Regions from separate parts of the Homo sapiens genome. Here regions 1, 2, 3 and 5 are each linked to region 4. The links are contacts of gene promoters, found by promoter capture Hi-C in blood cells and fetal thymus (Javierre and others, 2016). All regions are on one chromosome and are shown on one strand. The core of a region is centred on a gene start or on the middle of the fragment in contact, and the rest is flanking DNA. Distances in the headings are between cores, read along the strand shown. Region 1 holds the start of CCDC25 (coiled-coil domain containing 25). Region 2 holds the start of BNIP3L (BCL2 interacting protein 3 like). Region 3 overlaps DPYSL2 (dihydropyrimidinase like 2). Region 4 holds the start of PURG (purine rich element binding protein G). Region 5 holds the start of PPP2R2A (protein phosphatase 2 regulatory subunit Balpha).

The links. The method cuts DNA at HindIII sites, captures the fragments that hold promoters and counts their contacts. A CHiCAGO score of 5 or more calls a contact.
Region 1: a contact is called between the fragment with the promoter of CCDC25 here and the fragment with the promoter of PURG in region 4, in 7 of 17 cell types (fetal thymus, total B cells, total CD4 T cells and 4 more). The highest score is 8.5, in fetal thymus.
Region 2: a contact is called between the fragment with the promoter of BNIP3L here and the fragment with the promoter of PURG in region 4, in 3 of 17 cell types (non-activated CD4 T cells, total B cells and naive CD8 T cells). The highest score is 12.0, in non-activated CD4 T cells.
Region 3: a contact is called between a fragment that was not itself captured here and the fragment with the promoter of PURG in region 4, in 1 of 17 cell types (total CD8 T cells). The highest score is 5.8, in total CD8 T cells.
Region 5: the fragment with the promoter of PPP2R2A here is called in contact with the fragment with the promoter of PURG in region 4 in 3 of 17 cell types (naive B cells, total B cells and naive CD4 T cells); the score reaches 6.7 in naive B cells.

The regions. Positions count from the first base shown.
Region 1 is chr8:27,771,230-27,773,929 of GRCh38, reverse strand. It overlaps CCDC25 (coiled-coil domain containing 25), which reads left to right and starts at 1,290. Exons shown (of 9, transcript NM_018246.3): 1 at 1,290-1,417. The coding sequence starts at 1,390. It also overlaps a transcript of ESCO2 not described here and the pseudogene RNU6-1276P. RefSeq lists an enhancer at 1,297-1,606. The HindIII fragment of the contact is 7,740 bases long and covers 1-2,700 here.
Region 2 is chr8:26,381,607-26,384,306 of GRCh38, reverse strand. BNIP3L (BCL2 interacting protein 3 like) reads right to left here and starts at 1,253. Exons shown (of 6, transcript NM_004331.3): 1 at 1,077-1,253. The coding sequence starts at 1,176. It also overlaps the pseudogene SDAD1P1. RefSeq lists a silencer at 504-1,093 and enhancers at 1,304-1,603, 1,577-2,700. The HindIII fragment of the contact is 3,600 bases long and covers 1-2,074 here.
Region 3 is chr8:26,574,860-26,577,559 of GRCh38, reverse strand. The region is part of intron 1 of DPYSL2 (dihydropyrimidinase like 2); the gene reads right to left. Among named protein-coding and RNA genes, the nearest start is that of DPYSL2, 62 kb to the right of the region's middle. RefSeq lists silencers at 1-433, 474-673 and enhancers at 1-477, 478-1,175, 1,274-1,443. The HindIII fragment of the contact is 357 bases long and covers 1,235-1,591 here.
Region 4 is chr8:31,032,046-31,034,745 of GRCh38, reverse strand. It overlaps PURG (purine rich element binding protein G), which reads left to right and starts at 1,390. Exons shown (of 2, transcript NM_001323311.2): 1 at 1,390-1,668; 2 at 1,958-2,700. The coding sequence starts at 1,964. WRN (WRN RecQ like helicase) reads right to left here and starts at 936. Exons shown (of 35, transcript NM_000553.6): 1 at 773-936. RefSeq lists an enhancer at 662-1,183 and silencers at 939-1,198, 1,359-1,408. The HindIII fragment of the contact is 5,494 bases long and covers 1-2,700 here.
Region 5 is chr8:26,290,140-26,292,839 of GRCh38, reverse strand. It overlaps PPP2R2A (protein phosphatase 2 regulatory subunit Balpha), which reads right to left and starts at 1,332. Exons shown (of 10, transcript NM_002717.4): 1 at 1,014-1,332. The coding sequence starts at 1,020. RefSeq lists a silencer at 1,181-1,530. The HindIII fragment of the contact is 3,300 bases long and covers 245-2,700 here.

The DNA of each region.
Region 1 (2,700 bases), core at 41-2,540, 3.3 Mb after region 4:
CGGAGAACCCAAAACAATTGCTATTTACAGAACAGAGCTAAATTCTTACTTTGGAAAACCAGAAAGTTCCTAAAACGGTTATTGTTAGCTATTGTTACTATCTTTGTGTCACCAGCTCCTGGTACAGTGTTTCTGGCACATTTTTAGTTTCAAATAAGTTTAGAGTTTTATGTTTATTTTTTCAAATTTAATTTTCACAAATTTGTATGTCATCCTTGAGCAGGGGCCATGTTAAAGTTCTCTGTATCATTCCAATTTTAGTATACATGCTGTCAAAGCAAGCATGTAAATAAATTTCGTTAAGTGACGCCCTCAATTTCATAGAATGAAGTCAGTGACAGTGATGTAAGAGTGTCAGTTTAAAAGGAAAAGGCTGAGGCAAAAAAAAAAAGAATGTAGAGTTTGCTTGAGTTAAAGCGGGGACAGCTGCCCAGAAGATTCCAACCCCCCTCCCCCCACCGCCCTCCACCAGCAGGCTTGGATATGAGCTCTGTCTGGCCTTTGCTACAAGCAGGTTTTTAAAGACGAAGAAGGGGGGCAGGAAGTGGGCTGATACACAACTGTCAAGCATTCTCATTGATGTATAGAAACTACAAGCATCAGTGATTGGCTAGACATTGTTAAACTATAGGGTGTGGGTCATGTCATAGTGTCTTGTGTGGCAGTGTTAGGTTAGTAGGTAGCTACCTGTGGCAGAAGCAGGTAGTTTCAGTAGATGAATACATAGCTCAAGGGGGTGGTAGAACATGATGGGGTCTTATCTTAATGCCTCTCCAGACCTAGTAATTTAAAGGGACTCACATTCCTCAGATAAAAGTGCTTTCTCAAGAGAAATAATCAGGGCAAAGCCAAGTGCTGTAGGAGCTTTACATGAATATGATTATTCCTACTTTATAGCAGGAGGACCTCTGAGGTTCAGAGGTTTGGGATGGCAGGCCTTCGATTTAAGCCAGAACAAAGTCCAATCCCCAAGAGGCATATTGTCCTGGTGAGTATCAGAAACAACTCGTTTGTGTGCTATGTTCTAAACCCTTGGCGCCCATTAACTTATTTAACCCTAAAAAATATCCTGTGAGTTAGCTGCTCTAGTATCATCTTCATTTCGCTGCTGAGGAAAGTGAAGCACAGACAGGTTAACTAACGTGCCCAAGATGCCCAGCCTCTTTCCCTTAACCCACAAATCACTGAACCAAACTCCTTGCCACTACACTTCGCCTCGCCAGGATTAAAAATGGCGCCCACGGCCGGCGTTATGACGCGCCCCGACGTCCGCCGGAAGTGCACGGAGGAGTTCCGGGGGCCAGGCGGCCGCCGCGAGTCTGGTATCCTGAGCTTCGTGAGTTGAGCGCTGCTGCTCCGCGGTGGAGTCACCGCACCGCTCCCGGGATCATGGTGTTCTACTTCACCAGCAGCAGCGGTGAGTGGGCGCCACGTCCTCCTGGACCCTGCTGGACAGCGGGCTCCGAAGCCGGGACCCGCAGTCCGCCGCTGCGCCTGACCCTCGCTCTAAAATGCCTTCTGGATGCGAGTGCCTCTTCCCGCGGCCTCTCGGTCCCCCAGCACATCCGTCCCTCCCACGGCTGCAGGATTTCCCCCGGCGTCCCCTCGTCATGGCGTGGGGGGCGCGGAGGGGCGATGCCACTGCTATGTTTGTATCGGGGAGTTCTCGTCCCCTAATCGGAAAGACGTCCCGTCACTCCCTGGGATTGGGCAGAGCCTGTGGGCTCCTCCACACACCTTATCCCAAGTCTTCTTCCCACCTTCCATCTGCGGCCTTTGTTCTGGCTGAACCCTTGTAATTATCCCCTGTGAGAAAGGAGACACCTGCTAACAACTTTTTCTTAAGGGAAGCGCGACTTACCCTTTCAGGAAGGGGTTGTAGGGTCTGGGATGCAACAGAAAACAATAAAAAGACCCTGGGATGTCCACCCAGCCACTCTCCGGGCAGTTGATGTCCCAGATCTCAGAAGTGACCTATGGTAATGCTTCTGACTTATCTTTGACAGATAAGGAAAGGGTGCCCTTCGTTCCCAGGAAATGCAGTGTCCCGACTTGGTTTCGTTCTGTTCCTGTTATTCCCCTTTCCTAAAATCAACCCCCAGCTAATTCCCTTAAGACAGTTTTGGCCCATCTTTTCCAAGATGCCTTTCCTGATGCTAGCTCCTACCCCAAGATTGCTTAGCTATTCCTTTCCTGGGACCCACTTAACGTTCCAAGTATGCCTTTGGCATTGCACTTATCACGTGGTATTAAATGGTGTCTGCTTGAGCTAGAGTGTAAGTCCCTTGAGGGCGTGGACAGGATCTCTTTACAGTAGTCCCTACTTGTCCTGTATTTCGCTTTCCGTGGTCACATCATCACAAGAAGAAAAGGAGTGAGTACAGTACAATAAGGTTTTGAGAGAGAGAGAGAGCAGAGTCACCTAACTTTTATTACAGTACGTTGTTATAATCGTTCTATTTTATTATTAGTTATTGTCAATAATCTCTTACTCCACCGAACTGATACATTAACTTTATCATAGGTATACATATATAGGGAATACCAGTAGCCATGCGTCCCTTAATGACAAGAATACATTCTGAGAAATGCTCCATTAGGCGGTTTCATTGTTGTAGCAACACGGTAGAGTATACTTAAACCTGTGGTATAGCCTACCACAAATGTAGGCTGTACAGTATACCGTTGCTCCTAGGGTAC
Region 2 (2,700 bases), core at 4-2,503, 4.7 Mb after region 4:
GCCACACTGGAAGCACCTCCCTCTTACGAAAGATACTGCATGACCTTTAAGCATCCAAGTGGTTTTGAAAAGACTTCATCTGGCCATATGCTCACTGCTCCCATTACCTCTTTCCCAAGAGTTGAATTAAAGAAAGGTTAGGCAAGAACCCTTCCAAGAAGGCTCCCGGTTCTCACGACTAGGAACAATCTGAGGACAAGATGTCTGGGCAGCGGAATGTTATGAAAAGACCCTGGCCTGGGTTGTCTATCAGCCTCGTCCGTTAACTTTCAACTGCCCGAGTGCGTTTTTAATTCCGTTTCTTTAAATGCATGGCCCCAGACTCCCTGACGTGTGCAATCTTGGGTGGTTCAGGAGGCTGCTCTCAGCTTTACTGGGCGCACAACCCATCGCTTTAAAAAAAAAAAAATCACTTGGGCAACTTCGAGAAATCTAATAAAAAAATAAAAAAGGAAAAAGGAGAAGCAAGGCACAGCCTCTCACCCCACACGTGACTGAAGCCAACCCTAGACGAGCAAATGAATTTTCCTGACAAACGTGTGGCAACAAAGGAATGCTCGCTGGGGGGCTCCCGCGCCCGCCAGACGCTGCCCGCCCGCGAGCCCCGCACACCTGATCCCCGACACGTCCCGCGGCAGCCGCCCGCCCCGCCCCGCTCCCGCGCGTCCATCCCCCGGCGTCCCCGCCGCACGTCCCCATCCCGGCCCACGTCCCCTCCGCGGCCCGCTCCGCCCACCCGGCCTCCCCGCCCCCCAGGCCCGCCCCCGCCCCGCCCCGCCCGGCTCCGCTGCTGGGGACCACCCCCCGCACCAGGGGGATCCGCGCTACCCGCGCCGCTCCCGGACCGCGAGCCCAAACGGCCCCGGGCCCAAGACCCCAGGAGGCAACAGAGAGGCCCGGAGCAAGGCAGGCGCCCCTCCTCTTGACAGGGGACGGGAGCTGTCAGTCACCTGGACATCCCATGCCTGAGCCAATGAGCTGCCTTCTCCTCCCGCCTCCCGCGCCGCGCCGGTGGCGGCGGCCGGGGCTGCTCCTCCTCCCCCATCCCCTTCACAGAGCCTCGGCCCCGCACTCACTGTTGAGGCCGGCCGGCGGGGGCAGAGACTGCTCATTTTCCTCGCAGTTGTTGTTGTTGTTGTGCAGGGGCGGCGGCGGCTCGACTAGGTGGGACGACATTGTCGGACAGCTGGCAGGACTGCGGCAGCAGCAGGACCGTCTCCGGCACTCAGGCAGCAACACAACAAGCCGAGTCCGCCGCCCCCTTTTCTGCGCCTGCGCCGTCCCTCCCCTGCCCCTGACGTCAGGGCCCGCCCAGGCCACGTGATGACAACACAACAAGCGACCGGACGGGGCAGGGGCGCTCCCCTGCGGGCCCCGGACGTGGAGACGCTCGAGTCAGGCTGACGCGCGCGCCGGGAACGAACTCTTGCGTGTGACTTGGGATGACCGGATGGGATGAGTGATGCCAGTGGCAGTGGGAGAGAGGATGAGGAGAAACGGAATGAGGAAGTGCGCTCCTGTGTTCGCGCCCGTGCCTCCTCTCACACAGGCTCCACAGTGCTTCACCCAGCCCTGCGCACGCATCTGTTTTCTACCTCTTAGGACTCACTTCTGCAATAGGTGTCTTGGGGACACAAAGGAATCCCCAAACCCAGGTGCCTCCACGTGTAAACTCCAAATAAAGCTGCTGAAACATCAACACTCCATACGGGAAACAAGGGAAGGCCGCCCCCAAATTTAATTGTTACAGAATTTTTAAAATGTCGATTACAAACACACCATCATTCTGAAAAAAAGAGAAAGAAGAAAGGGGAAGAAAGAAAAAAGAAAAATTCAGGAAAACAGAGAGAAGAAAGTACTCACCCAAATCCCATCGACTAATCGATTTCTGGGACATGACGTGGGAAGCCGTTTATCCTGTACGTGGATGACATTAAACTATGTTCCTGAGCACACCTCCTACTTCACATCTCCATGTCTTCGTCCAGTCTCCTTGGTCTGATTTATGAGTGACATATGTTTCTCGCAGTCTCTAACTTGTCTTTTAATTTGTTTTTTTCACTCTGTAGAAGCTTAAGGTTTTCATGTAATCAGATTTATCATTCTTACATGGCTTGGGGAGACAGTCACACCAAGATTACTAATCTATAATTCCCTTATAACTTTTTCTAATTTTCTTATAGGCTTAACTTTACATTTAGAGCTCTAATCCATCTGAAATTTATTTTCCATATGCTGTAAATTATTTAACTTCAATTCTTCCCAATTTTGTAGCCCATTGACCTAATAATATTAATTTTAAGCCATCCTTTCTACACTGATTTGAAATTGCACCTTTGTCACTCTCTGAATGACCACAAAAATGTGAGTCTGTTTCAGGGCTATCTGCAATACCTCTGTTAGATAACTATTAAAGTTTCTCTTCCTTTGTCTTTTTCAGATGTTAATGGCTAGTTACTCTTCAGATGAACTTAAAAATGGACTTGTCCAAGATTGACCTTGTGTTGGTAATTATTGAAGCTATGTAATACATTAAAGTATTCCTCTAATTTTTTAATATATTTGAAAAAGTCCATGCTAAAAGGTTTTTTTTAAGGATTGATTTGTCAAATCCCTTTGCAAATTCTTTTAAGATTTTGGTCAGAAATGAACTCTATTAATAGATTGAGTGCTGTTTCCGGTCATACCCGGAAGCAGGAG
Region 3 (2,700 bases), core at 164-2,663, 4.5 Mb after region 4:
TGCGCGCGCCCCGGTCCCTGCCCGCCTGCGCGCCAATCCGCGGAGGCCGCCGCGGCAGCCCCGCGTGGGGTGACTGCGCCGAGCCAATGGCTTCGCTGGCGGCGAGCGCGCGACTGCACCGCCGGCCGGCGCCGCGCAGCCCGGGAGGGCTCCCGGGCCCTCCTCCCCCGCCGTTGCTGGCGCTGAACTCGCCTGGCCCCCGCCCTGGCGCGGCTGAGGACTGGAACGGCGGCGGGCGGGAACCCGGCGGGGAGGGCCCGGCCACGCCCGGCCCCGGAGAGGGCGGCTGCTTCCCGGGAGCGTCCGGGCCCGGCTCCTGGGGGCGGGGAATGGGCGCGGGCCGGGGGGAGGCTGCAGAGACGGGATCTGGCCCGCGTGGAGGCGCCGGGCTGCAGGAAATGAGAGCCCTGAGGAAACCCTTCCAACTCCGAGCCGGGAAGGAGGCATCCGGGGAAGGCTGCGGGGTATGGGAAACCCCGCCCTGAAACATCCTTTTGTGCCTTCCGGCCGCGAGGAACTTAGTAGGGCGGAGGAATGGGGAGCAGCCGCAGCCCGCCGAGGCCGATGTGGCGCGATCTGCGCTCTGTGCGCCCGCTTTACAGTCACGCCCACCTCGGCTCCCTGAGGGGTGCGTGGGGGCGCAGCGCATTTCGCTGGTGCCTGCAGCGCTGTCGGGGGCAGCTGCTGCGATCCCAGCGCCCCGGGGTCCTGAGGGTTTACAGTGCCAGTGGATGGGACCCACACCGCACCGTGGGGCGGAGAGGAGGAGATGAGCTGTGGAGGAGCAAGAAAGGAAGAGTTTATATCCCACAGGAAAGGGAAACTGAGTCTTGGGGAAAACCTACTGAATCGGAGTTAAAATCAAGAGTGTCCTGACTGCCCAGGCAGAGCCTTGTCACTTCAAACGGCACTCAAGGCCCCTTCGTGGTCCTAGCAATTGAGCAGGCCTGGGACCCCTTAGCTTTGCCTGTCCAAGCCATGCTGGGATGCTCTAACTTCAGGGTCCGTGGGAAAGAAAAACGCTGATCCAGTTGATCCTCAGGAATCTACCGAGGCCAACCCCCGTGGGAGGTTGCCCTGGCAGGTACAATAACTAAAACATCTGGACCAGCCCTCGTAGCGCTCGGGCTTCTCTGCTTGAGGTCGAAGGATACATAGAATCCCTACGTAATCATGGGCTGGGGGGTGGGGGAAGAAAGAGTATGTAATTGGCTCACACCTGCTCAGCAAAGCTTAGCTAGATAAATACGGAATAATTCGAGCTGCTGTGGGCCTGACTTCCAATCTTTCTGCCCTTCACCACCTTAGCCACTTTAGGGGAATGTCTGTCCTTCCAGACTCAGAGAAGGTGTAAAATTCTCCTTTTCACTCCTATATCTCTAAAAATCTGAAGTCCCAGAAAGTAGCCGTAGGGCACGCACAAAGTTTCACCGATGGTTAATTCATCCAAGTTCAATTTAGCTGTGCATCTGAAAGAGAAAGTGAAGCACTTCCCCCTCCAGCAATCTGATATGCCGCAAGCAAGGTGAGATGATGTCGGCAAGTATTGCTGTCAACCGGTAATGGTTAAAGTCACGAGTCTGAGAAAGCTTAAAATACGCCTTTCTACTTGGCCTCTCTCTACTTGTGAAAAACCAACAGTCAGTCCCAGCTTTGCGGAGGACAGGGCAGTGGAGAGGAGTGTCCTATTAGCTCACAAAAAAACTACTTGGCAAGGGAGTAAATAAAGAGACTCAAATTAATTTAAAACAAAGTAACCTATAATTATATTGTTTGTATTCTTGTTGTATTCCCTACCCCCGTCCCTGTTGTTTGAGCGTAATGGGTTTAAATATATCTTGTTATTTACCAGTTTACCATAGAATCGTTTGTTTTGTAATAAAAGCTTCCAAGAGCTTGTGTCTGTCTCATTGGCTTCAATTGTATAGCCATTGCTATGAGGTTCTTAGTCCATAATAACTGACGTTTCCACTCGTAAATATCCAAAAATGTAAGGTATAAACTGATTTGTCTGTTCTGACTAGAGCCTAAGAGAGTATTTGGCACATAAAAGATACCAAACAAATGGTTTAAATTGACCGAGGAAGAGAACTGTCTGCAACCTGCATTTCTTACCATATTTACCATTCAGCGCAATGAGGAAAAGTAAAAAAGGGCCGAGGAGAATCTTCCACCTGCTTTGCACTGATGAAGGTGAAAAAAAAAACAAAAAACCACAGGTAAACAGGCCTCACACTTTTACTTCAGAGATCCTTGTAAAAATAAATGAGAGGCTGGGCACAGTGGCTCACACCTGTAATCCCGCACTTTGGGATGCCAAGGCAGGCAGATCAGTTGAGCCCAAGAGTTGGAGACCAGCCTCAGCAACATGGAGAAACCCCGTCTCTACAAAAAATACAAATATTAGAGACTAGGCTGGCCAACATGGTGAAACCCCGTCTGCACTAAAAATGCAAAAATCAGACGGGCATGGTGGCTGGGGCCGGTAATCCCAGCCATTCGGGAGGCTGAGGCAGGAGAATCACTTGAATCCGGGAGGCGGAGGTTGCAGTGAGCCAAGATAGCGCCACTGCACTTCAGCCTGGGCAACAAGAGCGAAACTCCATCTCAAAAAAACAAAAACAAACAAAATAAATTAGCTGAGTGTGGTGGTGGGCACCTGTGGTCCCAGCTACTGGGGGCAGGGGAAGGTTGGGGCTG
Region 4 (2,700 bases), core at 141-2,640:
CTTGTAACCAAGGCTGAAGGAGCACTCCCCAAGGCAACTGGGAAATGAGTCCTGGGCAGCTGTCCTCATTTTGGCTGAAGTAAACACTTTAAATTATAATTTTGTGCCCCAGCCTCTTCCTTTTAGGTAGACACCACTATTCAATGACATCAAGATCTGAACTGTCCTACTTATCCCAATATCCCACCCCTAAAAAGAAATGTACCGAACCATAAAAAGCCTGAAGTACTCCGACTTACAGACTCCTGTATTAGCATCCTAAGAATTATATTACCCTCTTCAATAGGGAGTAGTATTTTTCATATCAAACCTAGCCTGAGAACAACTGAGATTCAACTAGGAAAAAAAGAAAAGAAAATCCATTAAAGACTGAGTGATTTGAACTCAAAAATATCCATCATCACTTGCTAAATCATAGACAGCAGGTTATTTCCCTCGACTTTGCTGTGCAGACCTGTAGTGGCTCAATTTCTGCCATAATAAAGGCCGTACTAGAAAGAGCAATCCTAACTAAGCGCGCAAGGTAAACATCAAGCTGGGGCCGTCAGGGGCGGGGAAACACTTTCTGAATGGCGGAAGCTCCGAGAGACGCCTTTCCCAGCTGCTCCAGAGGGGAAAGGAAAAGGGAGAAAGTCTGTTTTTCCAGAATCTCCCAAACACAGCCCAGGGGCCTGCTCCGCGGGCCTAAGCGCCTCCACGTGTCTCAGAAGCCTAGCACTATAGATACCCCGGGGCACGGAGCTGGGAAAACGGGAATAGGAAGACACTTTACCCCGAGAAGATCCAGTCCAACAGGTCTTCTTCAGCCGGATGACTGTGGAGCGCCACCACAAGCAGGGCCTGCAACCCAGGCATCCAGGCTAGACACCAAATCAGCAAACTTTATTCCCGCGCTGCCGAGTACAAGCCGGCGCCTCCCCGGCGCACACAGTACACATCAGCTCCGGGAGACCTACCCGACCCGCCCCTCCAGCGCCGTCCCCGCCCCCGTTCCTGCCCCACCCCTTTCCCCGCCCCCGGCCCGGCTCGCCTTTCTCGCGGCGCTGCAACCCTCCCACCACAGCCCATCCAGCCCCGCCCAGCGCGCCGCGGTGCGCATGCGTGGAGGCCCTCGCTGCCGCTGAGCACCTCGGGAAGTGTAGTCTCTTCGCAGGTGCGGCTGGGCAGCTAGAGTCCTGCATCCCGGTGGAATCCGGAGAAGTGAGAACATTCCCGCCGCCCGGTCCTCATTCCCATCTTCCCACCTGTCCAGTCCCCTCGCACTCCCGCTGCACCCCACGCGCCGGGCTTCAGTCAGAGAGTGCACTGAGGAAGAGCGGAGACCCCCTCTTCCCCTCAGCAGGCTGTGCCGGGGGAGGCGGGGTCCACCGCCCGCCCCCCGCCGTCGCTCTCCCCGCCTCCCCTTCCCTCCCCTCCTGGCGGGTGCGGGGCCGGTGTCCGAAGTCAGGCGGCGGCCCCCGCAGCGGCCGCAGGAGGGGCGGCTGCGGTGGGCGCCGCGGGCGATGCCCCTGCCCGGCTGCTCCGGCGGGGGGCAGTGCGAGCGGCGGCGGCGGGGGAGGAGGCGGGGGGCGGCGGCTGCGGCGGCTGCAGCAGAGGGGCCGAGAGCTGGCGGTGGCGGCGGCGGTGGTCGTGAAGGGCATCGGCGGCGGCGGTGATGGCAGAGATGATGTGAGTGCCCGCCGGCTGGAGACCTGGGGCCGCGGAGCGCGGGACGGGCGGCGGCGGCGTGCGGGAGCGGCCCCGGGGGCGGCGGAGGGATGCGGGGAGCGCGGGCAGAGCCGGAGCGGCGGCCGCCAACCGGCCGGCAGTGGCTGGAGCCCCGCGCTGCGGCGCCGGGGGAGCCGGGCCCGGCGTGGGGGTCGCGGGCGGCGGCGGGGCGGTCAGGCCGAGGGGCGTCTGCGATTGTTCTCAACACCCCTCCCCCACCCCATCCCGTGTGTCTGTTTGTTACTTGCAGCTGAAGATGGAAAGAGCCAGGCGAAGGGGAGGCGGCGGCGGCCGCGGCCGCGGAGGCAAGAATGTAGGGGGCTCTGGCCTAAGCAAGAGTAGACTCTATCCCCAGGCCCAGCACTCCCACTACCCCCACTACGCGGCCTCAGCCACCCCTAATCAGGCCGGGGGCGCAGCCGAAATCCAGGAGCTGGCCTCCAAACGAGTGGACATCCAGAAAAAGAGGTTTTACCTAGACGTGAAGCAAAGCTCCCGGGGCCGCTTCCTAAAGATAGCCGAAGTCTGGATAGGGAGAGGCCGGCAGGACAACATCAGAAAGAGTAAACTGACCCTCTCCCTGTCTGTGGCAGCGGAGCTGAAGGACTGTCTAGGGGACTTCATCGAGCACTATGCCCACCTGGGCCTGAAAGGCCACCGGCAAGAGCATGGCCACAGCAAAGAGCAAGGCTCCAGAAGGAGGCAGAAGCACTCGGCACCCTCCCCACCAGTCTCGGTGGGGTCCGAAGAGCATCCTCACAGTGTCCTGAAAACAGACTATATCGAGAGGGACAATAGGAAATATTACCTAGACCTAAAGGAAAATCAGCGGGGTCGCTTCCTACGGATTAGACAAACCATGATGCGGGGGACTGGCATGATAGGTTATTTTGGCCACAGTTTGGGCCAAGAACAGACTATTGTCCTCCCAGCACAAGGAATGATTGAGTTTCGTGATGCCTTGGTTCAGCTGATTGAAGACTATGGCGAAGG
Region 5 (2,700 bases), core at 83-2,582, 4.7 Mb after region 4:
TCACGTGCAAGTACTGAGGTCGAAATGATTGAAAATGTCCTGGGGCTCTAGGGAGAAAGAAACTGAATCTAAATCTGCAACTGATTCTACTACATGAAGGAAAAGATTTAGCAATACCAACATGTACAAAAAGAATTCTCAAAGCAATTACATTACTTCTCTCTCCCCCATCACCCCTATTCCTTGCTAAATTTATTTCCAAACTGGTTTTCTCTCTACATCCTTTCCCCTCCCCTTCAAAGCTTCTACCTAAATCTCTCTCCTCCTTGCTATTTATATCTCTGAACTCCGCAACTATTTTAACTAACTCTACCAAACCCTTTTGGGAAAAGGACATCTGCAAAAAAGCTAACATGCTAAACGCAAAGTTTAAATTATTTTCATGCAACTTGCTGTACATGAAAGGCCTTGCACTCTTCGGCGGTAAAAGGGAAGAAACGGAAACGAAATGGTTCGAAACAAAAAATTTAGGCTTCCAGTCTCAAAAATATTGGCATCTACAGTGGGGAAAAAATACACATATGCCCCCACTGTATTTTAACTTATAAGGCGCTCTTCCTTCTCGAGGCAAAATAAATGTGTATATACACCCAAGAAGGCTTGCAGCAGGGGGAAAAATAGAAATTAAATGAAGACCTGCAGGAAAAAAAAATAAAGGCGGGGGGCAAGGTGGGGAGGTGGGAGAAGATCCACCAGGCTCCCGAGCGGGAGGGACAAATCTGCACGCACCCCCACCCCGCCCCACCCACGCCTCACCCCAAGCTCGCCGGCACACCCCACCCCCACCCCCGCCACGGCGCCAGCCCCGTTCTCCAAGCCCAGTGACTCTCACCGTGACCACTTGCCTCCCGGGAGCCCTCCCCGCCCCCACCCCACCCCTCTGGACCCTACTCCCTCAAACCCGAGGGGCGCCCTGTGGCTCTGCGCGAGGCGCGGGCGGTCGCTAGGGGGTGATGGAGGGAGGAATAAGGAAGCGGTGCCTTGTCAGGGGGCGAGGGGGATTTCTCCTTTACCTGCCATGTTGCGCTGCAAATGGTGACCCTGCTGGGTTCCTCGGGGTCTCCGCTTCCTGAACTCACCCCCCTCACCTGGGGATGGGGGGGTAGAGAGGGCGGATGGCGGCGGATGGCACCTGCGGGGGGAGGGGACGGGGGCCGGGGGGAAAAGGAAGGAGGGGCGGGCAGACCAGCCGGCAGGATGCTAGATTTCACTCTGGGGCTTCCCCGCTCGTGCTCTTTCTCCGGCAGCGGCGGCGGCGACTACGACAGCGACGGCGGCGGCGGCAGCGGCAGGGGCAGGCGACTCCACTTTCAAAATGGCGCCGGCTGGCCTGGCCAGTGACGTCACCTAGGGGGCGGAGCCGCCGGGCTGGGGCGGAGAGCGGAGGGGGAGGGGCGGGGGAGCGGCCGGGCGGCTCTTGGCCACGCCCCCTTCCTGCTGCGCCTGTGCCCCGCCCTCCGTGTCCCGGCCGGCAGGGCCTGCGCCGCGCCAGCGTCTCGCCATGGCATACCCTCTGTCCGCACCGCCTGCGCCAGGCCGCGGCTGTGTGCACCTAGCAGTGTCCCAGCCTCGAGCACTAGCGCCGGGGCTCTGGGGCGGGCTTAGGAGTCCAGTTTACGTGCTCTCCTGCAAGGATTCATGGGGTCCTATGTCTTCTAGGAATACCTGGGCCGGGCACGGTGGCTCATGCCTGTAATCCCAGCACTTTGGGAGGCTGAGGCGGGCGGATCACAAGGTCAGGAGTTCGAGACCAGCCTGGCCAACATGGTGAAACCCCGTCTCTACTTAAAAATATACAAAAATTAGCCAGGCGTGGTGGTGTGCGCCTGTAATCCTAGCTACTTGGGAGGCTGAGGTGTGAGAATTGCTTGAACCCGGGAGGCAGAGGTTGCAGTGAGCCGAGATCGCACCACTGCACTCCAGCCTGGGTGACAGAGCAAGACTCCGTCTCAAAAACAAAAAACAAACAAACAAAAAACCCCGTACTGCTTCTTAGGAAATTGTCACTTTGGATTAGCCCTGAGACCACAAAGAAAGGGACAGCGGTGCAGACTTACTGCTCAGCCGGGGTGAAAGTTCACGGGGTTCAGAGGGACACGATTGGGCTGGTTCTATCTGGGTGAATTAAATTACCTTCTCGTGGGCCCCAGGATCCAAGGCGGGAGTCCTAGGCACTGCGGACACTAAGAGTGATTTCTAAGAGAAACCTGAGTTTGTGATGAGAGGGTATGGCCCAAGAAGTGACCCGGCGTCTCTCCAGCTAAACGTGTTGGACTGCGTGCTTAAGAGCTGGGCTCAGGGCCGGGCGCGGTGGCTCACGCCTGTAGTCCCAGCACTTTGGGAAGCCGAGGTGGGAGGATCGCTTGAGGCCAGGAGTTCCGAGTTCGGCCTGGAGAACATAGGGAGACCCATCTCTCCAAAAAAAATTTTTTTTTTTAAATTAGCCAGGTATGATGGCGTGCCTATAGTCCCAGCTACTAGAAGGCTGCAGTAGGAGGACTGCTTGAGCCCAGTAGGTCAAGGCTGCAGTGAGCTATGTGATCACATCACTGCACTCCAGCCTGGGAGACAGAATGCGATCCTGTCAAAACAAAAACAAAAACACAAAAAGTGCTGGGCTCTGAAGCCAGGCTGCCTAATATGATTCCAAGGCTCAGGAGATGAAGATGACAGTCCTACCTGATAGGATTGTTGGGGAGA